6 separate regions of the Homo sapiens genome follow, and all the other regions are linked to region 6. The links are contacts of gene promoters, found by promoter capture Hi-C in blood cells and fetal thymus (Javierre and others, 2016). All regions are on one chromosome and are shown on one strand. Each heading gives the region's core, a stretch centred on a gene start or on the middle of the fragment in contact. The rest is flanking DNA. Distances are from core to core; before and after follow the strand shown.

Evidence for each region. The method cuts DNA at HindIII sites, captures the fragments that hold promoters and counts their contacts. A CHiCAGO score of 5 or more calls a contact.
Region 1: a contact is called between a fragment that was not itself captured here and the fragment with the promoter of NRIP1 in region 6, in 7 of 17 cell types (naive CD4 T cells, total CD8 T cells, non-activated CD4 T cells and 4 more). The highest score is 6.9, in naive CD4 T cells.
Region 2: a contact is called between a fragment that was not itself captured here and the fragment with the promoter of NRIP1 in region 6, in 3 of 17 cell types (megakaryocytes, M2 macrophages and M0 macrophages). The highest score is 10.4, in megakaryocytes.
Region 3: a contact is called between a fragment that was not itself captured here and the fragment with the promoter of NRIP1 in region 6, in 1 of 17 cell types (M2 macrophages). The highest score is 6.9, in M2 macrophages.
Region 4: a contact is called between a fragment that was not itself captured here and the fragment with the promoter of NRIP1 in region 6, in 4 of 17 cell types (fetal thymus, total CD4 T cells, naive CD4 T cells and 1 more). The highest score is 8.4, in fetal thymus.
Region 5: a contact is called between a fragment that was not itself captured here and the fragment with the promoter of NRIP1 in region 6, in 6 of 17 cell types (M0 macrophages, M2 macrophages, non-activated CD4 T cells and 3 more). The highest score is 6.3, in M0 macrophages.

Annotation. Positions count from the first base shown.
Region 1 is chr21:15,518,340-15,522,702 of GRCh38, reverse strand. No RefSeq gene overlaps it. Among named protein-coding and RNA genes, the nearest start is that of USP25, 210 kb to the left of the region's middle. The HindIII fragment of the contact is 705 bases long and covers 2,144-2,848 here.
Region 2 is chr21:15,445,466-15,450,228 of GRCh38, reverse strand. No RefSeq gene overlaps it. Among named protein-coding and RNA genes, the nearest start is that of USP25, 280 kb to the left of the region's middle. RefSeq lists an enhancer at 4,532-4,763. The HindIII fragment of the contact is 7,816 bases long and covers 1-4,763 here.
Region 3 is chr21:15,425,767-15,430,137 of GRCh38, reverse strand. All of the region lies in intron 2 of LOC101927745 (a long non-coding RNA gene), which reads left to right. It overlaps LOC124905055 (a long non-coding RNA gene), which reads right to left. Exons shown (of 2, transcript XR_007067934.1): 2 at 4,179-4,371. Among named protein-coding and RNA genes, the nearest start is that of USP25, 300 kb to the left of the region's middle. The HindIII fragment of the contact is 2,674 bases long and covers 1,602-4,275 here.
Region 4 is chr21:15,533,404-15,538,231 of GRCh38, reverse strand. All of the region lies in intron 2 of LOC105369302 (a long non-coding RNA gene), which reads left to right. Among named protein-coding and RNA genes, the nearest start is that of USP25, 190 kb to the left of the region's middle. The HindIII fragment of the contact is 4,404 bases long and covers 1-3,615 here.
Region 5 is chr21:15,466,594-15,471,411 of GRCh38, reverse strand. No RefSeq gene overlaps it. Among named protein-coding and RNA genes, the nearest start is that of USP25, 260 kb to the left of the region's middle. The HindIII fragment of the contact is 3,765 bases long and covers 1,659-4,818 here.
Region 6 is chr21:15,061,708-15,066,590 of GRCh38, reverse strand. It overlaps NRIP1 (nuclear receptor interacting protein 1), which reads left to right and starts at 1,591. Exons shown (of 4, transcript NM_003489.4): 1 at 1,591-1,846. RefSeq lists enhancers at 690-739, 3,190-3,239 and silencers at 1,070-1,249, 1,500-2,359. The HindIII fragment of the contact is 10,218 bases long and covers 1-4,883 here.

The sequences.
Region 1 (4,363 bases), core at 1,247-3,746, 460 kb before region 6:
TTATGGTCTGAATATCTACAAATTTATATATTGAAATCCTAACCCCCAATATGATGATATTCAGATATTGGGCCTCTGGGAAGCAATCATATCATGAATTCAGAGCCCTCATAAATGAGATGATGTCCCTTAAAAAAAGAGGCCCAAGGGGGTTTGTTTGCCACTTCTGCCACATGAGGACTCATCTAGAATGTGCCCTCAATATTTAAATGGCTATACTGCAGGGATTCACAGTGGCACTGACATGCCAGCCCCCTGCCCCTTCAGCCCCCTCTGGACTTTGGGCACTGACAAGCATGGAAGGGAGGTCGAGGTGGGGATAAGGGCGGCTTGGCACAGGCCTGCAGGTGCCCCTCAGCACAAGCAGCCTGGGCGCCATGGGCTCTGTGGATGGCAGGTTAATGGCAGCAGGAGGCAGACAGGCTCCTGGCTGCAAAGGGGCAGGTCCCCAGTGAAACACTAGCTTCAGGCCAGGGATGACCCAAGAAGCCTGCGGGTCAGGATGTCAGTTCCATGGACCAGAATGAAAACTAATGGCGCTTTTTCAGGGCCTGCCCATAATCACCCATGGGCCAATCAGCATGCACTTCCTGTCCTCTGAAGCCCATACAAATCCTGGACTCGGCCAGACTCAGGAAGATGACAGGACAAACCTGCTTCTGGAGAGAAGCTACCCACTGTGGGTCTCCTCTCTACTGAGAGCTCAGCAGAAGACAGGATGACCTGCCTGCGTAGAGGAGGTACCCACTCCAGGGTCTCCTCTCTGCTGAGAGCTGCAGATTCATCAGACGACCTGCCTGAGGAGAGAAGCTACCAACTACAGGTCTCCTCTGAACTGTTCTGTTGCTCAATAAAGCACCTCTCTGCCTTGCTCACTTGTCCACATACCTCATTTTTCCTGGATGCGGGACAACAAGTCAAGACCTGCCAAATGGTGGGGCTGAAAGAGCTGTAACACAGGCAGTGCTGAAACATGCACCTCACTCGCCATATTGCAGGTGACAAGAAGGAGAGAAGAGCTGTGGCCCCTAGGGGAGCCCAGGCCTAGAAGCTCCCCGAGCCAGGGCAGTGACACCTTCTTTGGGGCTCTGTAGTTCCTGGTGTCTCCAAGCTTCCAGGCACCACTGTGTTTCCTGGTGTCAGCTGTGGCAGCTATTTGCAGTACACCTGGTCCAGCCATAGCCTTGCAGTGAGCAGGCACTCGTGCCAGTACCTGGAGCTGCCTGCCCTACCATAGCCAGAATATCTGGCTATGCACAGTGGCCAGACCCCACACTCTCTCACACACCCCTCACCACTCCATGCCTGGCTCACACTTGGCAGGTGGAGGATCCAGGTTGGTAGCATGATCCAAGCGCAGCCTGCCAGGCCAAGTGGGTGGAAGGAGCCCAGTGGGCCTGAGCAAAACTCAGGCAAAGGTGCCCCTGGCCACAGAGTTTACTGGCTGGAAATGTGACACCCCAAAGATCCTGTGACAGTGTGGTGATGCTTTCTTGCATTTTCTGAAACCCATCTTTTGCACCTCCAAACTAGAGTCTAAAAGCTGAATGTTTTATGCTGTAGACAATTTTCTGTAGCTTGAGGAAATTTCAGCCACTTTGGAGGTGGGGAGGAAGTCATGCACACAGGAGAGCTGAGAGGAAGTGGCATGAAATCTTTATTAGAACTCTGAGCTCTTCTGTCTCCTCTGCCCTATTCCAGGGTTCACTCCACCTAGTGGCAGATACTCTGGGGAAGGATTCTTTCTCTGGGTAACCCTGGGGGCTTTATTTCTATCAGAGATGTCTTGTAATTTATTTCCCCTAACTTCACCCACTTCGCCCCTGGAGCACTTTCCACTCGTGTTCAATCAAAATAAAAAGATGCCAACATTTATATGGCATTAGGGAGGATTGACTGGCTCTTTTCCAGGATGAGGGCATGGTTGGGAGCTTCTTCCTTTTCTTCTGGAAACATTTGTTGCTTTCTTTGGACTGGCTTATTAAATTACAGTATGTTATTCTCTTGTTCTGGTTTGGTGGTTGCTGTTGAACATTTTCTCATTGGGTTTTATTGCTGTCATTGTTGTTCTTTTTTGCTCGTTTTGTGAAATTTTATGGGAGAGAAATTAAATTTTTGGACCCACCATCTTAACATGGAAGCTTGTAAACAATATTTTACTGGCCACCTTTATTCATTACTTAGAAAAGAAACTCAATCTATCAAAACTATATTTCAGACATAGGATTATTTTGATGAAGTGAAATTTATTATACATACGGTGAGACCTAACTTGTGTTTTTAATATCCTTAAAGTGCCTCGATTGTGTGGTGATAGGAGCAATAAACATCAAATATAAATAAGTACTTGCACCTGACAAGTAATTTATAAATATTTTGCATGTACTATGACCGTACTTATTTATGTACAGAAAATACATAGTCAGACTATATCCACAAATAAAAATGCTGACCATATAAAGTGGTAATTCATAGTTATTACATGTCTCTTCTCTCTTGGTTTATTTTCCTCTACATCTTTTCCCATAATTATTTCCTTCAGTCATGGCTGTCTGTTCTTTTTTTTTTTTTTTGAGACAGAGTCTTACTCTGTCACCCATGCTGGAGTGCAATGGCAGGATCTTGGCCCACTGCAACCTCCGCCTCCCAGATTCAAGCGATTCTCCTGCCTCAGCCTCCCGAGTAACTGGGATTACAGGCACCTGCCACTGTACTCGGCTAATTTTTGTATTTTTTAGTAGGGATGGGATTTCACCATTTGGTTAGGCTGGTCTTGAACTCCAGCTGTCAGTTTTACTTTAAGGCAAAAAGCAAGGAAATGCAGCTTTTGAGTTTACGCCAGAAAGCTTTTTCTGCCTTGAAGAAAAATAATATTTCAAACTGTACACTACAGTTTTTAATAACCTGATGTTCTAAGTTAGCAACTGTTGTCTATTCTTGTTAAACTTTACATAAGCATATGTGAAATAAAAAAACTAAGAAGCTATTATCACAATATTATATGAAAAATAAATGCTCAAGAGAATTAATTCAGATGCCAACACTGCGTATAACCCATATTTAATTCTCCTCAGAGTTGCCATATAATCTGCTTATAGTTGAAAAATCCTTGAAATGTATAGATATTTCAACAAAAATTCAGTAGGACTCAAGAGAGATTATTTGATGGGATCAAGAGACAAAACTAGAGAGTACACACAAATGTACACAACACACACACACACACACACACACACACACACACACACACACACACACAGTAAGTTAGATGCCACAGTGGCCTAGAACATTAACCAACTACTTTAAAACAAGGTATTCAGGTGACTGTATGATATGGTTTGGCTTTGTCCCCACCCAAATCTCACCTCGAATTGTAGTTTCCATAATACCCAATGTGTTGTGGGAAGGACCCAGTGAAAGGTAATTGAATCATGGTTGAAGTTACCCCAAGCTGCTGTTCTTGTGGCAGTAAGTTCCCAGGAGAGCTGATGGTTTCATAGGTTTTATAAGGGACTTTTTCCTCTTTTGCTTGGCACTTCTCCTTCCTGCTGCCATGTGAATAAGTACATGTTTGCTCCCCCTTCTGCCATGATTGTAAGTTTCCTGAGGCCTCTCCAGCCATCCTGAACTGTGAGTCAATTAAACCTCTTTCCTTTGTAAATTATCCAGCCTTGAGTATGTCTTAATTAGCAACATGAGAACAGACTAACACACTGTAATACAGCAATGGCTTGTAGCTCTGTAAGTGACTGTCATCCTGCCCTGATTCCTCTCTCTAGCACAAAACAATGCCTATGTATTCTAATATCTCATCAGTTCTATAAAGGAGTGACTAATAAAAAATATCTTTAATTTATTCTTCTTGTTCCAAGAAGCAAAAGTGCTAAAGGTAAGTCTAATTTATTTCCAACATACATTAAACTGACAGTATGTGTAAACTACAAAAGGATCATAATTTTATTCTATCCTCGTTTGTTCATATCCAGAATTATTAATAAGAAAAATCAGGAAGCCTAGTAACTCTCGACACTATAATTCAGCTTATGAGAAATTTCTTTTTTTTTTAATTTACTTAACCAGTTACTTTTTATTGAATATTTTGGGTTTTCAACTTTTCACTCTTACGAACAATGCTAAAAATGAGCTGTCTTGTACGTAAATATTTGGTACCTTTTTCATAATTTCCTCAGGATAGAGTCCTAGAAGTGGAATTTCCAGGACAATAGGGCATGCATATTTGAAGACATCTAAGGCACCAAACTGCTTTTCAGAAAGATGGCACTCATTTATAGTACTATGGGTGGTAATTGAGATGACTGATACCTTGTTATTCCAAAGTTATTGCACTTGAACTTAAAGAACC
Region 2 (4,763 bases), core at 1,154-3,653, 380 kb before region 6:
TAAAGAAAATGTTGTACATATACACCATGGAATACTATGCAGCCATAAAAAGGAGGGAGACCATGTCCTTTGCAGGGACATAGATGGAGCTGGAAGCCATTATCTTCAGCAAGCTAATGCAGGAACAGAAAACCAAGCACCGAAGCACCACATGTTCTCATTTATAAGTGGGAGCTGAACAATGAGAACACATGGACATATAGAGAACAACATACACTGGGGCCTGTTGAGGAGGGATGGGGGAGGGAGAGCATCAGGAAAAATATCTAATACATGCTGGGCTTAATATCTGGGTGATGGGTTGATAGGTGGAGCAAACCACCATGGCACACATTTACCTATGTAACAAACCTGCAGGTCCTGCACATGAATCCCAGAACTTAAAATAAATAAAAAAACAAGCAAACAACTTAAATGGATATTTCTCCAGAGAAGTTATCCAGATGGCCAATAAGCACGTGGAAAGTTTCTCAACATCATTATTTATGAGGGAAATGCAAATCAAAACCACAATGAGATACCACTTCACATCTGCTAGAATGGCTATACATAAACAAAATAAAATGGAAAATAACCTCTGTTGACAAGGATGTGGAGAGATTGGAACCCTCATACATTGCTGATGGGTATGTAAAATGGTACAATCCACAGTGGAAAACAGTTTTGGGGTTCCTTAAAAAGTTAAACATAGATTTACTACATGATCACAGTTCCATTCTTAGGTGTATACCTAAAAGTACTGAAAACAGATATTCAAACAAAGACTTGAACATGAATGTTCACAGCATCACTATTCACAGTAGTGAAAAGATATAAAAAACCCAAATGTCAATCAATGGAATGGCCAAGCAAAATGTAATATGTGTGTACAGTGGAATTTAGCCATGCAAGGGAATAAAATACTGATAATGCTACAACATGGATGAACCTGGGAAGTATATTAAATAAGAGAAGCTAGAAATCAGACATCACATTTTATGTGATTCCATTTGTATAACATATATAGAACAGGTATGTCTATAAAGAGAGAAAGAGCACATCTGTGTTTGCCAGGGTATAGGTAGTTGGGTAATGGGAAGTAACTGTTTAGTGTGTGTATTAGTCCATTCTCAAGCTGCTAATAAAGACATACCCAAGACTGGGTTATTTATAAAGGAAAGATGTTTAATTGGCTCAGTTCTTTACAGTTGGCTAGGCCTCAGGAAACTTACAATCATGGCAGAAGGGGAAGCAAACATGTCCTTCTTCACATGGTAGCAGCAAGGAGAAGTACCAAGCAAAAGTGGGGAAAGCCCCTTATAAAACCATCAGATCTTCTCAGAACTCACTCACTATGACAAGAACAGCATGAGGGTAACTTCTCCCCTGATTAATTTACCTTCCACCAGGTGGCTTCCATGACACATGGGGATTATGGGAATGACAATTCAAGATGAGATTTGGGTGGGGACACAGCCAAACCATATCAGTGGGTTTGGGATTTCCTTTTGGGGTGATGAAAATATTTTTAAACTAGATAGAGGTGATGGTTCCACAACATTGTGAAGGTAATAAATGCTACTGAATGTACAGTTTAAAATGGCTAGTTTTATGTTATGTAAATTTTACCTCATTTTTAAAAACAAAAAAATACACCCACTGGAAATGTATCAGTATAAACGGGGCCTAATGTGGGATTGTGCTCCAAATTCATATCACCCCCTGACTGGTAGTGCTAGTTGATGAATGCCATAAGAAAATACACATATTTTTGGAGGAATACACTCTCAATCTAAGACTCAGAATAGCCTCACAGAAAAAGTTTCATCAAGCCTAAACTCACAACAACAACAAAAATAACAAAACACAATGGAAAATAACATATTGAGACCAAGAAAGAGGATAAACAACAAAGAATACAAAGAAAAGAATCAGATGCATTAAGATCTCAGATATGGAAATTACTGCATTTAGAATATAAAAAGTAAGAATACTGTTTTTTCTTTTAAAATTTAAAAATTTTAAAATCTGTACTAAATTTTTAAATCTCTACTTTTTTTCTTTTAAAATTTAAAAATTTTTAAGTCTCTACTAAAATTTTTAAATTTTAAAAGAAAAAAAGAAAGGCATCAAATGTGTGAGGAAGGCATAAGACTGTGGAGACTGATCATGCAGAATTGCTAAAAAATTTTAAAAACAGAACTTACAGTAGTAAAAAATATAATTATTGAGATTAAAAACTCAATGGTAGAGTATCAGATACAGCTGAGGAGAGAATTTACAACTGGAAAATACAGCAGAAGAAATGACTCAATATAACATGGGTAAATATTTGGAAAACATGAAATAGAGGTTAAGGGACATTACAGTAAAGTTAGAAGGTCTGGCTTATTGCTTAGAATTTCACAAGAGAATATAGAGAATGGAGAAAAGTCAGTATAGGAAAAAAAATGGCTAAAGGCTTCCCAATATTGGTGGCAGACTAGATTACATCAGAAGACCTCAGTGAAATATAAGTAGGTAGCAACAAAAAAAACACACACCTGAACACACCTTAGTGAAATTTCAGCTCACCAAAAACAAAGCAAATATGAAATAACTACAAAGGAATGAAAGCAGCTACAATGGAAGCCAGAAGATGATGAAAAATGTCTTCAAAGAGTCAAGAGAAAATGACTATCAAATAATTATATACTAGGTGAAACTACTTGAAATAAAGCCATCATCAGATAAACAAAAGCTAAGTTTTTAGGAGCAAATCTTCACTAAAGGCTATTGTAAAGACTGTACTTCATTAAAAAAAGAAAATATACAAGAAGAAATGTGATGCTTTTAAAAAGCCCAATAATAATGCTGGGCAGGGTGGCTCACCCTGTAATCCCAGCACTTTAGGAGGCTGAGACGGGCAGATGACCTGAGATTGGGAGTTCAAGACCAGCCTGACTAACATGGAGAAACCACATCTCTACTAAAAATACAAAATTAGCAAGGCATGGTGGTTCATGCCCATAATCCCAGCTAGTTGGGAGGCTGAGGCAGGAGAGTCGCTTGAACCCGGGAGGCAGAGGTTGCAGTGAGCCGAGATTGTGCCATTGCACTCCAGCCTGGGCAACAAGAGCAAAAATCCATCTCAAAAAAAAAAAAAAAAAAAAAAAGCCCAATAATGAAGAAAATACTGTACTTATTTAATTTAGAAAACTGAAGTTTGGAGTGTTTCCCCAAATCTACAAATAGCAATTTAGAGTTGGTGTTAATATCCTGTTCTATATGACTCAAAGCATGTATTCTCCTATAATATATATATAAAATACTTGACCCGGCTGCATAGGTTTGCTTGGGCTGCCATAACAAAATATGATAGACTGGGTGACTTAAACAACAAATCTTTATTTTTTCATGATGCTGGAGGCTGGGAAGTCCGAGATCAAGGTGCTGGCTGATTCCGTTTTTTGTGAGGGCTCTCTTCCTGGCCTGCTGATGGCCCCCTTCTTGCTGCGTTTTATACTGGGGATTGGAGTTTCAACATATGAATTTAGGGAGGACATATTTCAATCCATAGCATCATCCTTCCACATTTTTTAAATTCCTGAAAGTTAGTTATAAACCCGATGATTGAATTCACTCTAATTCTCTCATATTTAAATGGGAAATTTTGTGCAAATTATTCCTTAGTCTCCATACCAAATTCCTTGGCAACCCATGTTTTCCCTGCTGTGTATCAGGAAGCTAACCCCACTGAATCTTTTTACTGACAGGTTACAGCTGATATTTTGCCACAGGATGTACTGGCAGGAGCTGACTGAGTTGCAAGGAAGTAAAGCCAGGGTATTTCTTCTCTGCTGCCCTGTGGCTTCAGCACCACGTCTTGGGCAGCTGCTGCATTTCTCCAAAACTACAGCTCCAACTGGGCGGCCCCTCCTCTGTGCTTCCAGTTCTCGCTGGGTTCTGTTAACATTATTTCTTCTCATTGTCCCTTCAGCCCAAGAGGTTGTAATGTTGCTAGTCCCTGGGTAAATTATTTATTTGCTCCTAAAACTCTGCCTATGCCTTTTTGGAGTGCTACCGTTAACATATCTTCACTTAAACCATTTTAAGGGTGAATCCCATTTCTTACTGGGACCCAGGACCTAACAGGCCTTGCTTACATATTGCATTTAAATTAAATCTCAGGTTTATGGTACTTACATGCCATTCTACATTTGTATTTCAGAAAATATATATGTACATAGACATCCATTTCATTTAGGGAGAGAAAAAGGAAAAGGATAAAGTAAGATGTCAGAAGGAATGAAAGGGACCTTGCAAAACTACATAGAGAAATCGTCCCTTATGCCTTTAGAAAAACCTCACATTACCAAAGGGTCTCTGGCAAAGAAGCCATACAGAAAAAAATGCCCTTTTGTCTTCTTATGCATAAGTTGAACATCATTACCCAAGTATTGTCCATTCCTTTAAGGGATAGGTTATAGGAGGGAATTGTTCTTTTTCTTTAGGATTTTTTTTTTTTTCATTTTTTTCCCTTGGAATGAGAATAATTAGAAATTTTCAATACTTTAGTTTAAAATAGGTCATTTCCCTTTCACATTGTCAGAAAATTCGTACTTCCCTAAATTGGGTGATTGGGTGTATTCAGGGAGTTCCTCTATGCAGTGTAGCTGAGTTTCAAAATCAGTGTCATTCTCGGTGTTTGAAATGTATGGTGGAAATCTGTTGGGCTTGCTTTGTAAATGCAGAGCTAGGTCAGGTGAAGCCCAAAGGCAGTAGGCCAGAGTGGGCCCCAGGAA
Region 3 (4,371 bases), core at 1,689-4,188, 360 kb before region 6:
TGTCAGCGTTCAGTGTCTTAACACATTATCTTCTTATCTACAGGCAGCTTAAACCAGTATCTTAAGTGAACGGCTGGAAGCCAGGAATTTTGAGACTGGGTACAGCCTAGTAGAAAAAGCATGGGTAATGGGGCACTATTTAAAATCTCTTTTTGAAAGATTTGAAAATCTTGAATTTGAAAATCTTGAATCTCTCTTTGCCAGCTAACCAGCTGTGAACATGGAGCCACTTCTAAGATCCTTCTGAGCCCCAGTTTCTGAATCTGCAAAAGAGGGACAATCCTTCTTGCCTTGCAGAATTATTGTGAAGTTTACATTAGATCCTGTATGCTATGCACAGGATGTATGAGGCTTACAAAAAGCCTTTTCTTATAGCTTCTTGGTGAGGTAGAATGAGTTCATATTGCACAAGAGTTCATTTTCTGAATCTAACTTACCCATCGTATGAGAAATTAATAATTAAATGGTTGTGACATTTTTATCATTATGACATAGCAGAAGAATACTTAACAATTGAAGTAACATGGCATTCATCATCAATCTCATTTTGAGAGGGTCGACTCACAAATAGAACTTCTTTTCTTGCTTATGATATTCATACAGCTATATTCATATCTTTAAAAATTATGACATATCTTTTATATTTTTATATATTTCATGCTTTATATTTTCAAATATAAGTACAGTTAATATACAATCTTCTTTTGCCTTTGAATTTCACTTTCAGAGACATGTTTCTATTTCCCAATATTTGCCTCTTATCTATAATAAAAGTCACCATCCTCTTCAAAGTGTGTTGTGTCAATGTGCAACCTCAGTATACTTAATTCTCTGACACACACCCTCTGAGAAGAGTGGTGAGAGTTGCAAGGTGAAGCTCTCTTCTTTGGGGCACTCATTCAGAATATACGTAGACCAAAAGACAATTCTTGTCTCACTTTCATTATGATTTCCCAATGAGCCTCCTGAAAAGCTTCTACCGTTAAATTGATTATGCGTAAAATATAATTTATGAACTTGAATAATCACATTTTTAATTTTTTGCAGCTGAAATGATATGTGATGTACAGTTTAAAGGGTTATCATCTCCTTTCAGAAATAATCACCTGGTTATAAACCCATTACCAAGATAGTAAATAAGACCAAAATCTTCACTGGCTTTGAAGATAGACTTGGTTTGAAATATTCACCCCACAATAAATTGCTTGTATAAATTTGGGAAAATTTTTTGCCATTTTTGAGCCTCAGCTTCCTCATCTGTTAAGATTGGGTTAGTAATGATACTACTTCAAGATGACATTATGAGATGGTGAGAGAAAGCACATAGGGCTTTCTAGAAAAATTCTGTCTCATCTGAAACTTGAAAGAGGTATAGTGTTAGCCAAGCCAAGAAGGTGGGAAAACTGGCCTTAAAAGAAATGATCAACTCTGCACAGAATATTCTTTATGGTTTTATCATACCAGTGATGGCATCTCTTGTCATATACATGCATTTAGGTCATAAACTACATTTTATTTAGCATTGAACATCTCCAGCATCCCCCTGCCTTTATAGGAATAAGCAACAAAAGATAAACTGAACTACATTGAAAGTAAAAGCTTTTGTGTTGCAAATGATACTATCAAGAAAGTGAAATGACAACCCATAGAATGGAGAAAATATTTGTAAATAATATGTGTATAAGAGATTGATATATAGATTGTTATAACTGTTATAATAACTCCTACAACTCAATAATAAAATGCCAAATAATTCAATTTTCAAATGGACAAAGGATTTGAATAAACATTTCTCCAAAGAAAATATAGAAATGGCCAACCAGAACATTTAAAAAATGCTCAACATTGTTAGTCATTAAGAATGTGAAAATTGGCCAGGCATGGTGGCTCACACCTGTAATCCCAGCATTTTGGGAGGCTGAGGCAGGTGGATCACTTGAGGTCAGGAGTTCAAGACCAGCCTGTCCAACATGGTGAAATCTCGTCTCTACCAAAAATATAAAAAATTAGCCAGGTGTGGTGGCATGAACCTGTAATCCCAGCTACTCAGCAGGCTGAGGCAGGAGAATGAATCACTTGAACCCGAGAGGTGGAGGTTGCAGTAAGCTGAAATTGTGCCATTGCACTCCAGCCTGGGTGACAGAGCGAGACTCTGTCTCAAAAAAAAAACTGTGAAAATTAAAAGTATATGAGGAACCACTCTACACCTACTAGGATGGCTATATTTTAAAAAGAAAGAAAGAAAAGAACAATAACAACTATTGTTGAGGATATAGAAAAATTGAAACCCTCACACATTGCTGGAAGAAATGGAAAATGGTACAGCCACTTTGGAAAACAGTTTGGATGTACCTCATAAGGTTACACATGGAGGCATAGAGGTATCTTGTTTAACTCCACTATGACCTAGAAATTTCACTTCTGGGTATATGCCCGAGAGAAATGAAAATATACATCCACACAATAAACATGTGAAAAATGTTATAGCAGCATATTCATAATAGCCACAATATGGAAATAGCGCAAACGTCCATCAACTGATGAAAATAGGGTATACCCACACAGCAGAATATTATTTGGCACTTAAAAAGAATGAAGTACCGACACATGCTATAACAAGGCCGAACCTTGAAAACATCAAGCTAAGTGAAAGGAACAAATTACCAAAGATTACATATTGTGTGATTCAATTTATATGAAAGTTCGTAAGAGGCATATCTATAGTGACAGAATGTTGATTGGGATAACTAGGGCTGGCGGGGTGGAAGAGGGAAAATCAGATTAACTGTTAATAAAGAGGGGATTATTTGGGGGAGTGATGAAATGTTCTAAACCAAGATGATGAAGATGGTTACAGAACTCTCAGAATTCATTAAACCCATTCAATTTGCTAAATTTTATGGTATGTAAATTATATTTCAATAAAGAGTATTAGAAAAACGAAAACCATACAGGGTTCTATGCACCATTGTCAGAAGGTGATGGAAATTCCAAAGCTCATTCCGTTTCTGAGGTATTTTTGAAACTACAGGTATTCTAAAAATGCATGTATATATGTATTTGAAACATCCCAATGTAGAAAACAAACTACTTTTCAACTTAAGTGAAACTAGATTGAGATAAACTCAAAATAAAGTTAAGTCTGTCAAAGTGATTTGATACCATTACAAAATTATTTGACATTCACTATTTATCATGTTAAATTTTTGTAGCCTCTTCTGAATTGCTCTCTAGGCATGTGGGATTGTGGAACTATTACTCTGGCTAATATTGAAGTATTAAGGCATAATGTCTAGCAGATACAGTAATAGACAGTGTCTGATTTATCTGTTTTCGATCTAACTGATAGTAATAGATACACTTTCATTAACATAATAGAATCATTTCACAATTATTTTAATGCACCAGCTAGACACAGAAAATAACTTTGATTTTGTGTTCAGTGCCCATTTGCCCACTTAAACCTGCCTGCAAACTCGTCTTTTCCTACTGCTTGGATTAAATCTCAAGAATTCACACAATAAAAATTCATCCAGTCACTCTGAGTTACAAATAAGATCTCATTTTATCAACTGAAATATCTAGTACAGAGTCATAATCAGAACTCCAGACCCATGCCTATTTAGTCCTCCTCTTCTCTGACAGCTCAATTCTGTGTTATGTCCGAAAGCTCGTAGCAGGAAGGGAATGGGCAGATACATCCCCGTTGTTGCTTACTCGCTGGCTATGCTTTCTGATCCTTCCACGGTCAGGCTCAGGAGGGCATGAATCACGGACCCAAAACAGGGACTTTGAGATTACTCCGCCAAGGGATTAAGAGAAGACTGAAATTCTGCTCACACTCTGCTTACCAACTCATGTGTCCTGGCAAATGGTATTATGTCCCCCAGGAAGAAGCGATACCATTCAAATCTGCACATGCCCATCATCTGTTCACAAGTCTTTTGCCTATGGGGTGGGCCTGCATCTACTTCAAGAATGTACCATTTAGTTTTTTGTTTTTTTAACTAGCAAAATTTTAACATCGTAAAGATAGAGCTGCCCTATACCATTACCCAGCTTAAAAAACTACCAAATCTTAGAGATGTCTTTTCATTTCAAACGAAGTTGTAGGGATGATGGGAATTTTTTCCTCCCCCTCTGAAGTTTCAAGTCTGCTAAAATAAACTGACAATGGATTTACAAGAGGAAAAGCACACAAATTTATTAACATGTAAGTGTTTACGGGAACCATACAAAATATGAAACTCAAAGAAGGGCAAGGTGGTTGAAGCTTAAATACTCTCTTCATAGGGAAGAGAGAAATGAGAAATGTAGGTAATTTTAAGGGGTAGTAAGTGACTTTCAGGGAGATTGAATGAGTCCCAAGAA
Region 4 (4,828 bases), core at 164-2,663, 470 kb before region 6:
TTTTCTTTCTTTGTTTTCCTTTCATGAGAAGTATATAAATCTATTCTTGTAAAAACATTAAATGGATACAGAAATATGTAGAGTACAATGTCAAAGTTTCATTTTCTTACTTCCCATAGACACTATCCTTGGCAGAGATTACAACTTGATATATATAATTTTAGTTCTCTATCTAGATAATTACATGCATGTATGTGTTAAACACATACACACCCCTATATATAAATACTCACGTATTCTTAACATAAAAGTGAACATATCATTTGTGTCTTTTTTGGCAACACCAATAGATCTTAGATATTTTTCTATGTTAAAATACACAGTTCTATCATATACTTTTGTAGAATAAATGAATTTATCAAACATACATTTATTCTTTACAAGACATCACTCTAGGCATTGGGGATTTAGTGATAAATAATAGATAAATTGCTTGCCCATAAAAGTTTTGATTCTAGTGAAAGATATGGACAATAAAAAATGTGGCTTAATATTTAATATAATGTCAAGAGAAGGTAAATTAGACAAAGAAAATAAGAAGAGAGAAAATATAGAGAGGTTTGAGGCCAGGTTGATGAGGAAATTTCTCCCTGGGGGTAACATTTAACCAGAGATGCTGGAGAGAAGGAATCAGCCCTGAGAATGGCTGGAGATATGAAACGAGCAGAGGAATGAGCAAGTGCAAATGCCAGTGAGTTCTGAAGCAGGTGAGTGGTGGGGAAGGAGAGAAGAGATGAGTTCAGAAATGCAGGGACCAAATTATATAGGACTGCGGTTCAAAGTAAGGATGTTGGGTTTGATTTTATTTCTATTGAATCTCTGCCTTTCTTCTAATGAATGAAAATAACATAGCCTACTTCACCCTAATGATGGAAATGTATCTCTTTTGAATATTACAATGAAAATCCTTGCCTCATCTTTGTGCACCTGTGGCTATTTTTGCAAGTTGTCTTCCTGGAGTAGACTAACTGGGTTAAAAGGTGATGAGCATAATGTAAATGCTGGTAGATGCTGTCAAATTGCCTTAATAATTTTTGTATTCCCACCCATGGGGCGTGGAGGTGACCATTTCCCTTCATTCTTTTCAATATGAGATATTATCACCCTTCTTATTTTCAATAATATGAGACTTGTCACTCCTAATTTTCAACAATCCAATGGGAATAAAATCATGTCTGTCTCTTTTTTAGCTTGCATTTTCACTGTTAATAAAGCAGAAAAGGCTTTACAGGTTTATTAGCCAGTTTGATTTTTTTTCTCTTATGAGTAGCCTATGATCACATTTGCATTCCAGGTCATGCTCTGGCCAGGTTTTGGATTGGCTGCCTTTGAGTCAAGTATTCACCCTCAATACAATCAGCTGTGTCTGGAGATTGGGGTTACATATTACAAAACATAGCTCTTTAAGGCTGCTCTTCAACATGGGCTATAAGTAGCACATGATAACCTATAAACTCTATGGGCAAAGCAGTTACCCTGACTAATGCCCAGTACAATTTGATGGTGAGTGAAATTAGAAATATAACACATTATTTATTGAGCACACACCGAAAGCATCTAAGCTCTACTTTACATGTTATAGGTGACAAAAAGTTACACAAGACAGTGTCACTATCCTCAAGGAAAGACAAATTCAAAACTAATTATAATTCAGAATCCAATGTATTCTGAATTCCCCAAAATGATACTCACCAAATGATAAAGCAATTCTGAGAGAAAGGAAATCACATTCAGCCAGTAACCCTGGTAAGGTTTAGTGGTAGTAATAGTCTTTGCCTTCGATTTTGAATAGGTATAGGATTTTTTTAAGTGGCTATATTATTTTTGTAAAATAAATTCATGCGAATACATGACATAAAAGACTGAAGTAAAAATCAGCTATAGTCCCCCACTGGGAGAAAACCACTTTATTTTTTAGCGAATGACTCAATATTTTTGAGAAGGTCCCACCAGACATCTGTGTGTGTGTGTATGTGTGTGTGTTCATATGAACATATGTGAAGTTTTACATCAATAGGGACTTTTTTTTCTTCTGTCACTCTTTGGTACATTGGCCAATGCAGATACTCAGTATATATTTTTTGAATGAATGAATGTTTTATAGCTTGCTCTATGTTAATAAAAGGTATGTCTAACCAGTCATGTTTACTGACTGCATAGTGTTTCATTACTTGTGTAATTTATTTAACCAGGATTCTATGCAAAACTTTTAGGTTTATGTTCATCTGCTTTATTTTAAAAAACCTGATAAAATAATCTCCAGCTAAATCTATTTTATATGGATGTAACTATCTCCCTAGAGATAATTTCTAGGAATGCATTTTCTATAGGAAGGATAGAGCATATTTTAGAGCATAAATGGTGCATAAAACCAAACTTCTGTCCTGCATGGAAATGTGAATTAAATTTTCAACAAGATGTGGTAGCACATGATTTTACACGCTGGCCAAAACCAGGTTTTAAAAACCTTTTGGTGAAGAGAAAAACAACAGATACTGGGGCTTAACTGAGCAGGGAGGGTGAAAGGAGGGACAAGATCAGAAAAAATAACTATTGGATACTAGGCATAGTACCTGGGTGATGAAATAATCTGTACAACAAATCTCTGTGACATGCGTTTAACTATATAACAAACCTGCACACATGTACCCCTGAGCCTAAAATAAAAATTAAAAAACTGATTACATTCTAGTCACTTATCATGTAGCAAAAAGAAATAGATAATTGAAAGTTGATTCATTTTTTAAAGTGGTGAACACACGATAAGAAAGTCAATAGGTAGATGTTCTTAATTATTTATTATTATAAATTATGGTAATAAATTTTTTTTGGTGTATGTGGAAGTTAGAAATTCTAGTTGTTATTAAGTATGTGTCAGGAGGTAGAGGGGGATTAGAAGTGGGTATACTGTTTAGAAATATCATTTGAGATAAGGTTTATTTGGTCTGATTTGGAGGATAAGAATGCTTTAATTTTGTGTCTTTTACATGTTTGTCCATTTATTTTACTAATTTTATTCTTGGAAGCCACAAGCTGGTTCGATATTTCTCACACAGGAATCAAAGTGGACATTCAGATGCACAGTGTATCTCCTTGTATTCCATAATGAACAGGGAGTGGAAACTGAATGCTTATCTCTTTCTCTTTGTTAAAACTATGAGACTATGCTGAATTATACAACTTCTTAGTAAGTTACAAAACTACATAAGCAGTTTAGCTATACCGTAGTGTAATTAATCATGAATCAATTTTCAGTTATTTCAGAAGACTTTTCGGTGTATGGTTGTGCCACTTACTCAGCTATTGTCTCTCAGCTCAAACCACATTTCTATAATTGCTTCATGATCCTGAAGCTGGAACTCTGCAAACCTTATTTCTGCTTTGCCCCCTGATTTCCTGTTATGCTCTGCCAAAAGGGGGCACAAGACGGAGACTAGGACTGGAGGAGAAAGAAGGAACCTGGTCTTTCTTATTTACTCCTTGTTGACTTCCTGTCCGTTTGCAGTTCCTGTAAGCATCATTTTGGCAGCGCTTCTTCACCCAGGCAGGAGTAGTAATTCTGTATGCAGTAGCTGAATTCAGTTAACAGTTTTTTAAACACTTGTGAAACAAGCTTCACTGTGTCACAGTTAACAATCACCAGCATCTGCTAACAGTATCCTGTTTTCTACAGTCTGGGTCTCAGCCCCTTGGGACCGCTCTTCCAAGCTCAAAGACACCAGAATCTGTTGAGCAACTGAACCAGTAGCCCTCCTCAAAGCCCTGAGTTTCAGTTATGCAAGACCCCTCCTCTAAGTTTCTAAATTTTAATAAATCCAATCATGTCCCTTAGTTTTTTTAACCATAAGGATGGTATCTGCTTCCTACATTTGCTGCCTCCATGATACATTAGCGTCCTCTTTTTATCTTTTCAGTTCCTAGTTCACAACTTCATACCTGGTTGACAATTATTTACATTACATTCTCCCTGTTCAAAATCTCGTATGTTTTCCATCCTCTCACCTGACCCTGATGGAGACAATGGTCGTAGACGAACTGTGGGAGTTTTGTATTAAGTGTATGATAGTAGAAACCAAGTTTTGTGTTTTTAGAGAACAAATGTTAATTCACAGCTACTATATATATATATATATATATCTCCCTAGAAGGATTCTACGAGACAGAGAGGATGAAGAAAACCAAGGAGTGAGGCTCATTCATTAAGTGTGATTGAATAAAATGTGTCCATAGAGCATTGCCTTCACCACAGAGAGACTCCAGAAACCTCTTTGCATGTTTTTTTTCTTCAATGTCATAAATTCACATCTCCACAGCAGTAGCAGGATGGATTTTCTTGATGTAATCTGCCTAATAATGGGTTGTTTGTAGAGCCAAGGTGTTTCAGTGACCTGGGGTTATTCTGGAAGCTGCAATTACCTGCAGAGAATAACCGCTGAAATTCCTACGTGGAGAAATCCAGGGAAATGTCACAGAGGTGCATCTTTGAAATGGCCATGTTCGTACACTATGGTTGAGGGCAGGATTTCACGATTTACAGCAGTGAGATAAAATTCCTATGTACAGTGACTGTGGTCTTAACAGCTTCTTTACTTTTGATATTCATTTTCTATAAAGTTTTATGGTTTTAAAATTTCAAGTTAACCATTAAAGCTCAACTATGTTAAATAATCATTAAGAATCAAGCTCATAGCTCTTCTGAAAATCAAAGTGATTGGAGAACTACCTTTTTAACTGTGTTCTAGTGAAACAAGCTAATTGACCTGCTTATAGACACAATTTCTTTTGTGCAATTAGCTCAAGGTTGTATCCATTCACCTGGAATCCTCTA
Region 5 (4,818 bases), core at 2,292-4,791, 400 kb before region 6:
TGGTAGCAAAAGTCACTCCCTGCTCAGAATGTAATTAACAAGCAGATTCACTGTTGGTTAGAAACTTGGGTGCCATGTTTCCTGTGTAACATCATTAACTGTCTCCTGACCAGTGGCATATCAGCCTTCTCAGTTTAGTGGTGACTTGGGCAGGAACAGCACCGTATAGTCACTTCATAGCTGAAGATTTTCATGTGGGATACAAAAAGATGATTATGTCTAAGGAGTGACATAGAGGCTTGTGATTTAGGAAGGCTTCGCTATCTTTCTTGACATCTTCTTTCAAATATTAGGAATTTATTCCATTATTTCTAGTTTTTAAAAACACATTGGTCTAGATATTTAAAAAATCAAAACAAAGTTTTAAAACTTTTCCTAAAGTTATTTATTAGGCTTACAGACTTACCGCCTCTTACAGTTGAGTATCTTAGGCTTGATGCCCAAGGGATGTTTTTCTTTTATAAGTTGAAAGTTGTCCGTATTCACTATTAAATTTAAATTTTCCAGGGATTAATCATTTATTTGTCACTTTTTCTGTCTTTTTCCTGCTGCCTGCTTTGGACTTACTTTTTTTTCTCTCTCTCTCTCTCTCTCTGTGTGTGTGTGTGTGTGTGTGTGTGTGTGTGTGTGTGTTTCCTCGGCATTACCTTCAAGGAGTAGAGAAATAACGAGATGAAAGACAAATCAGGTAACTTTACCATTCTATTTAACTTTTTACAGATGTGGAAAAGGAACCAAATTCAATGGGTAAAGTACAAATTTATCTCTGCATTAAGTTACCAATGCTTAGCCCTGTTCGTCGATACTGATACCCAGGTTGATTGTAGTGAAAAATGTCCTCATGTGCATTTTAATTTTGAGTAGCTGCTTTTTAGGGTTAAGGGGCTCTGCTGGCAGGCCCTGGTGCATTTGTGGGCAAAGGCAACACTGTTTTCCCGCTTTGAGAATCCCGTCCAAGTTACTAAAATGTGCTTTGAAATCATTTATAAAACATAAATAACAGATGGTGAATCATCCTATTCAGTATTGTCACGTATCTCTGCCATGATATCCACTGTTCAGCAACTCATATATTTCTTTCTGATTAAATAGTCATAGTTTTTTTTATTTTTTTTATGTTTTTTATTTTTTATTTATTTACTTTTTTACAGAGTCTTGCTCTATTGCTCAGGCTAAAGTGCAGTGGCATGATCTCAGCTCATTGCAACCTCTGCCTCCTGGGTTCAAGCAATTCTCCTGCCTCAGCCTCCCGAGTAGCTGGGATTACAGGTGCACACCACCACGCCCAGCTAAGTTTTATATTTTTAGTAGAGATGGGGTTTCACCATATTGGCCAGGCTGGTCTCGAACTCCTGACCTCGCGATCCACCTGCCTCGGCCTCTTAAAGTGCTGGGATTACAGGCATGAGCCACTGCACCTGACCTAAAATTCTACTCCTTTTCTACTTGTAAATGGAATCCAGTCATTTCTCTTTCTTCTGAATGAATTGGTTTAATCTTCGTTTGTGTTGAAAAAGAGTAGAACTTAAGACCATATTCAATCCTTCTATGTAGCACTGAGAAGGGGGGGTCTTTAAGGAAATTGGTTACAAGGAAAGTAGAGCTTTGGTGTTTTTCACATTTTTATTTATTTGCAAAGATGCACATGCCTTAAAGCTTTATAAAGATGCCATATAAAGTAATACATATAGGGGTCTCTCATTTCTTCCTCTAGAACTTGTACATGGTCTTATTCTACAGCCAATATTTTACAGATTGCATTTTACCTCTGTAGTGCAACTCTGAGAGCCGTGTCCCATATCTTTAGCCCATGATCCTCAATTAACAGATACAGCCAGATTTTCAAATAAATGACTAAAAGTAAGAGAATTCTCAAAATTTCTTATACTCATTCCTTTAAGCCAAAACTTTAAAAGATGCTAACCATTTCAAAAGACACTTTGCCAGAATAAATCATATTCCTCTGTGCTTTTAAAAACAGAGAATGCAATCTTAATTCTAATTTGTATTGTGGACTTAGAGTAGACTTTTATCCTAGTCAAAGGGCAAAGCAGACCACAGTGGCGCACTGCTCCTGGGAGACAGAGGTGTGGAGAATTCCATGTCTAGATGCCCATAGAAACACCATGCATTTTGACTTTCATTCCATACTCAACAAATATTTATTGGGCATTGGTGTGCTAGAGATTATGCTGATAACTAAGGCTACAATGCTACAAAGGTACTAACTCTGCTCTCAAAAAGTTTACAAGTCAGCAGAGGACAAAGACAAATAAATGTCTGGCATATAATTACCATTTGGGAAATGCTTCTAATAGAGGTGTGAACAGAGCTCTCCTGAGAGAATCAAGAAATAATTTTTAAATTTTCTTTAATTGAAAATATCTGTGTTGCCTCTTCTGATCATAAACATGCATGTAAAAAGTTTAGCTAATATTTAAAAAGTGTAAGAAGAAAATAAGACCACTTGTAAGCTCATTACTAAAAAATAACCACAAATTCCATTTTGGTACATTTCTTCCAAATTTTTATGGGAATTGCTGCATATAGTGGAGTGCATGTGTGTGTTTGTGTGTGTATATGTGTGCATGTGTTTTTACCAGATCGTCTGCCACAAGGCTGACCCCTAGTCTACATAGCCATCCTGCCCACTTTGCAATTTCCTGCTTTCTATCTCTGTTGGGTGGGAAATCAGACAACCAAACTTGTTTGGATGGTGTCTGAAAGAAGAGCAAATTACACTGAGTGCAAGTCTGAGGGCCTCTTCTCAGAGAAAAGAGCATGAGCTTTAGCACATGGTTTCTATTTTGAATCCTCAGAGGCCTTTTTTTCCCTTGCTTCCTGGGTTTCAGCTGTGTTCCTGGTACTTGAGGTTACTGGAGAGATGACCTCTCCATAAGCGAGCCGCTTTTTTCTAAATGTAGTTCCTGACTTTTAGAAACTAATGAGAATTTGGCAATGCCTGGCTATCAATAGCTTGTCACTATTAAGCAGTGAGCAAAAGCAGCCTCAATTTTAAGCCTCTACTTTCCCCCAGGAGAAGCCTGCCAATCTGTGCATAAAAGACATGTGGCAATTGGAACCCAATGCTAGTTATATTTGTCCTGTGTGATCCTTCATCTAGGGTTACCAGATAAAATATAGGACACCCAGTTAAATATGAATTTAAATAAACAATGGGTGATTTTAAAATATAAGTATGTCTCATGCAGTATTTGAGACATCCTTGTACAAAAAACTGTGCCTTGTTTTATCTGAAGTTCAAATGTATTCAAGTGTTCTGTATTTTTATTTACAAAACCTGATGATTTTACCCCATCTTTTCCAGGTACCAAATCACCATAATCAAACTCTTCTCCTCCCTCTTTTACTTCTTTTCTCCTTACTCACAAGGCTGGCCAGAGAGGCTCAGTTCAGTTGAATAGGATTTGCTTCTTACTTGGCTGTGATTCAAACAGTTTAAACAGAAGGCATGTTTGGTAATGGAATAATCTAGTTTAAATAAATGAAATATCTTAACATGAATGCAGAATCTCATTCAAAGACAATTAAATTGAGGTCAAATACGTATGTGTGTATAGATAGATAGAACCATTATGATTTTATAAGGAAAAGTTATTTCCAACTTAAGTTCATAATCTAAATCATAAGGATTTGAACAGAAAGATTTGGAAGGTTCCAATAAAGGTTAAGTTTCAAAATCATGGGGAAAGTTACCTAGAAAATAACTTTTCTCAATGCTTTTTTAATGATTCTAAAATCGTAGTCAAGGGAATTTATCTATTAATTCCTTTAAAGCTACTGCTAGCACTAAGCCAAGTGCATTGAGATGATTGATCTACATTTCTTCCCCATGATGACAATGATTATGCTGCTTTTTAGGAAATACCTGTATAGAATTGGAGAATTTAGAGTTTTTCTGCCTATTAAATGTATAAAATTCTGAGTTATTCTCTTATCTTAAAGTCAAAGAAGGCATAGTTAACGGTTTGTCCTGGATTAGAATTTGACCTCTGATCCTTACTTTTCAGACTGTACAGAAATCCCTTAAATGCTCTGATCTCCAGTTCCAGTATCTGAACAAAAGGATAGTGATACCTGAGGATTTGTGAGGCTTAAATGAGGTAACATATGCAAAAATATCTGGCCTGGCATAGTGGTTACCCAATAAATGTCATTGTAGTTCTTTTGGGATGTAATTGCTATTAGACACTAAGATATCTGGCAATTAAAGAGACATACATGTGAGCAGTTGATTCCTGCTTCTTGTGGTAAATCCTGGACTACATCACTCACATGTTCCTATCTTTCTGCATTTTCTTCTACATATCATAAGGCATGTTAAGTTACTCTGCAGGCCTTAATCTTATAATGTTCCTTTCACCTCTTGCCAAATTCCCAAAGCCATATGTAGAGGATGGCTTTCTCTTCAGTCTCTAACCTCTTAAGTTACCTGATAGCTAATAAACAGAGATCTTGCATCCATGACACTGATATTTTGCATACATTTATCTTTCCTCTGAAAAACAGGTACTACTTATTTTCCTCCATTCTTGGTAAAGAAAAAGTGCTATAACCTGATATCACCTAAAAATAAAGTTTGGCCAATACTACACAGGTTTCATGTAAGTTCATCATCAATGAAAGATAAAATGACTAAATTAAACAAAATGTCCTATAAGTGTTAAATAAAAGATATGTATTCGCATGGATTGAAACATAGTAGAAACAATTATTTTAAACAAAAAAAATGCAGTTCAAAAATGTTACAAAGGTAACCCATTGCTTTATTTGGAAAATTCTGGCGTTATATTGGAG
Region 6 (4,883 bases), core at 342-2,841:
ACTGTGACAGTATTCTAAAACTCTCATTCATATTGTTTAAAGGTTAAGTGAAATTTGCAATACACAATACAGCCATTACATAACAGGCACAGAATACAGTTTCATGACTTGGATAGTTTTTGTTTTTTAAGCGCATTAGCAACTTCATTTCCAAATGCTATCAAATTCTTCAGGATATGAAAACCTACATATAAGAATGGAGTGCCTCATCGGCTCATTTGTCTTATGTAATAAGTGTTTTAACACGGGCATGCCGTTTCAGAATTTCGGGTGAGACTAAGCTGTACTTTAGCTTTTTTGTGTCAAGCAAAAACAATTTCAGCAACAACACTCGCTTCCCCTGGTAATTTTTTTCATGGCGAATTACTAAATGCTAGATGCTCAAGTCAAAAAGAAACCTGACATCTGGGGAGGTGTTGAGGGGGTGTTAATAGTTCTAGTGAGATGTCTGGGGAGCGTTGAGGATACGATTTTTCAAACAGCAAATACAAGGATAAGGGGAAATTATGGTTTCGTATGACTCTCTCCTCCTTCCACTTTCTCGTTTCACCAATCTGTGGCCCCCCCAATTTAGAGGCGGGTTCAGTGAGATTAGGCTGCAGGAAACCGAGAGGCTCCACCGCGCTGCCGCCCCGGCCTCGTGATGTAATTGTTATTTCTTATTCGGAGACCGAACCGAGGAGAGCTGCTGAAGAAGTAGCAGCCCTGCTCCTTTTCCCTTGTCTTGTTGGGTCAGATCCTTCCCGGGGATGATGCAGATTGGCTGACAGACTCCGCTGGAGACTTCGCAGTGACAAAGCAGCCGAGGATTAACCCTGCTCCTGGGTCCTACGTCTGTCCAGGGAGCTGAGCGGGGCGCTCCTCAGGTCTCCTTCCTAGTTTTCCTCCCAGAGTCGCTCCACACGAGTGCTGGGCGCCTACTACGTGCTGGGCGTGGGGTCAAAGTGACCCAGAGTTCGCGCCCGTGCCCCCCAACATTAAAGCAGGACACACAGATTACAAGGAGATAGAAATTGGGGGTGGGTGGGTGAAAGGGGGCCCAGAGAGCGCGTGTTGTGGGGTGAAGGGGAGGAGGTAGACGCTTAAGGCAGGCGGGGACCCTGGAGCGTCTGGGGCGCCCCGGCCCCCAGGCTGTGCCCAAACGGGAGCATTCGGCCTGGGTCCCAAGAGCGCTTTCCCCGGTCCCCAGGAGGAGCTGTCCAGGCGCCTGCAGCGGTCGCGGGCGGCTGGACAGAGCTGGGAGCCCGGGGGACGGCCCGGGCGCGCCGTGCAGCCCCTCTCTCGGGGACGCGGTCCTCTCGCTGCCTCCGGGTCTTGCAGCCCCGTCTGGGACACCCGGAGAGCAGGCGAGAAGGAAATCCACGAAACAGAGGGGGTTCCGCAGCTCCTGTGAGCCGCCCGGATCCGCGCGGCTTCCTCCTGACCGGGTGACAATGGGAGGGAGGGGGAGAAAAGGGTTAAGAAACTTGGCTGAAGAGCTGAATGGCGTGGGGCGGCGAGGGGAGGGACTGGGCCGCGGCGGACTCGGCGGCGGAGGGAGGAGCGCGGCTGCGGGCGGGCGGTGAGCGAGGCGCTCAAAGTCAGCCTCGCAGACATTGCAGCAGAGCCCCGAACTCGGGAGGCGGCGGCGGAGGAGGCGGCGGCGAGGCGCAGGGACGACCCGGCCCCACGCCCGCCCGCCACCCGCGCGCGCCCGTCCGCCCGTGGCCTCGCGTCCGCCGCTGCGCCGTGAGCGCCGCTGGTCGGAGGGAAGAGCTCGCCGGGGCGCCGGGCCAGGACGGGGCGGCAGGCGCCTTCGCGGACCGAGCCTGACGGAGCCGGAGGCTGGGAGCCGCGGCGGCCTGGGGTGAGTGACGGCCGCGGCCAGGGCGCCAGGAGTAGCGGCCGCCGGCGCCGCCGGAAACGGCCCGGGAGCGCGGCCCGCGTCGGCTCTCGCTTGGCTGGCAGGGCCGCGGGGGCGTCGGGGCGGCGGGGAGGGCGCGTTTCCGGGGAAATCCTGCCTCTGCTGCCTGGTTCGAGTCTCCGGGTTCTCGCGGGGGGCCGGGGCGGCGGGCCGGCAAGTTGTGGAGTGGCCCCGGGTCGGCCCGCCCGTCCGTGCCAGTTCTGGGCAAGGGGGCGGCCGTCGCGTGGCCCCTGAGCGGGGCCGGACTCGGGGGGCCGGGTCGGGGTTGCCCCCGCTCGCTTGCCCTCTCGGTCCCGAACCCCGGGCACCGCTCGCCTCGCCGCTCTCCGTCCTGCTGTCCAGCCGGATCCTGGGCGGCGCCTTTCGCCTGGGTGCCTCCCTGCTCCTTGCTCGCTGGATACCCGGCTGGGAAAGTGAATAGGAAAAGGGACAGCTCGCCCGGCCCCCACCCGACCCCGGGCCGCTCTGCCCGCACTCGCGGTCCCCTCCCGATGGCGAGGCTCACGGACCCGAGGCCTCAGCCATCATTTTACCAGGAGCCAGGGGCCGGCCCCCATTTAGGGTGAGCCCGGTGGAAGTCCGGGAGGCTGCCTTTTCTCCCTTCTTCTGTGTCCACCTTATTACGATTGAATATTGTTTTATGAAGGTTTCCGTGGATGTATTCTGCAGACCCTCCCATCCCTTCCAAAGTAGTTTCCCAATTTTGATCAGGAGTTGGTGTTCAGTCAGAAGGAACAAAGGAACCAACTGTGTCTTAGAGGCGGACAGGCTGGGAGTCTGTGACACATGTTGATCTCTGAAGCATTCCAGGAGTTTCTACCTTTTATCACGTCAATAATTGGCTGCTGAAGGTAGTAAAAGAAGTACGGAATGATAAGCACTTTTGCGTTTTAAAAATATTTTTTAATGGCACATTTTACTTTGGGGAAAAAAGACGTTCTTAGGCACAAGGATTTTTAAAAACCCAGTTGGTGGAACTGAGTTGGAGTTTGTTTCTGGTATTGTAAATGATTACATGTGGGATTGTGAAGGAAATTGTGTCCTTAGAGGAAGAGAAGCCATCTGTAGGTGTCCATAGTAAAAATGGTTGTCGGGTTATATGTGATGAATGCTCTTTCTGTTTCTTGGGGGAATTTGTGAAGCAAGGGGCTTCGGTAATTCATTCTTTAAAGTTATGAATTGCATTGAACCTGCTTATTAGTGAATCATAGGTTTAGTAAGTGGGTGGCATTATTCAGTGTTTAATCATCAGTTTTCCACCTTTGTTGAAGAGACAGTGAAATAATAGACTTTTTAAACAAATGGTGTTTCATCTGCCTGGCCCCTAAGTGTCGGTTGCCGCCTGGAGTATGTTGAAGTGTTTTTCACCTTCCAAGTAAGTGAGTTGCTCTGGTTTTGCCCGGCAGTTCGGTAACGTCGATAGGGTTTATTTGGTTCAGGGAGCACTGGCTTCATCACCTACAGTAACTTTTTTTCTGCCTGGGCATAGTTCCTAGAGACAAAGAAGGAGAATCAATTAGTGGAGCGGCTACTGCCCTGCAGGTTGTAGGATTGGTTGTTCTAGTCTGTTTCATACTCTGGTGGAGAAAGACCTCTTTCCAAACTTACCTTTAAAAGTGCCCTAGGAGTGTGAGTAAAATATACATCAGAACATAACAGAAAAAAAAAAGGACTGTTCGTTGTTGATTTTATTCAAATGAGTTAGTTGAAAAACCAGGTTTAATGCCTGTGGGAAGTTAGTTGAAAACCAGGTTTAATGCCTCTTTTACATGCATTTCTAAACTCTGCAGAACTTGGATTTTGCTAATTTTAACACCCTAAAATATTGTTAACTTTGCACTAAAGAAGTGTGTGAAGAGACTAAAGGCTTTTCTGACTCTTGCAGTTATAAGTGCAAAACATCATGATAAAAAATAACCTATACCACCACCTAGAGTCTGTTTGTTAGTTTATTGCTCATGAAGTTTGCTTAAATTGACATGTCTGTTACAGTTCTGATATAGTCGAAAATGATTAAGAAGTACTAGCTTTCAAAAGCCCGTCCAAGAGAACAATTATTTAAGTAATAAATAGCAAGTGCCACTTTAAATTATCCGTGCCACCTTTAGAATTGAAAATTATGACATATCAAGTTGAGTGGGCTATTCTCCAAAAGATGTTAATTCAGAAGATTTTAAAACGGAGTTTTCAGTTTGTGCGCCAAGGCAGTTCTGATTGCTTAAAGACTTCTGCGTTGTTATCAGAGATTCAAGAAATCTTCCCAATCAGATGCCATTAGAACTTTTTGAAGTCCAGATGAAACAAAAGCAAAAATACAGGAGAGCATTACAACTACAGAAATTCTGGAAATTCAGAAGTTAAGAGAGAACGCAGCCCATGACAGAGTTGTGATTCAGAGATATGAAGAGTAAAATCAATGTGAATTAAAGTGATAATCTGTTTTGCTGGTAGTTTATATGTGGTAAAGCAGTCTATTAAATGAGAGACCTTAGGGAGGCAGCTTTGTTGCCATGTGGCTTATCACATTGTCCATGGAGGAAGTAATGTTCCTCCTTTAAGTGGTGTAGCCTGAGAGAAAGATGGCCTCCAAGATCTTTAATTAAATACCAGTTGAACAGAAAGAACTAGAGCACTGTATTAATTCTGTCAAACATCACTATTTTAGAACATTGAGGACAACTAAAAATGAATTAACGCATATCTGAAAGCAGAGTTTGATAGAAGGTGACAGATGAGGCAAAATATGCCAATCTAATGGAACAAATAAGATAAGGAGATATGCCATCCTTGACTCTAGAAAGATCAGAGGGAAGAAGATTATTGTTAATTGCACAGATTCTATTGCAGACCAATGCTAGAAGACAATGACATAGAAGTAATTTTAAATCAGAGTGGCTTAGGATATATGAGGTTAAAGGAATTTGGCTTTTAATTTTAAAACGTAAAGAATGTAAGAAACTCAAAAGCTCATGTTCTAACT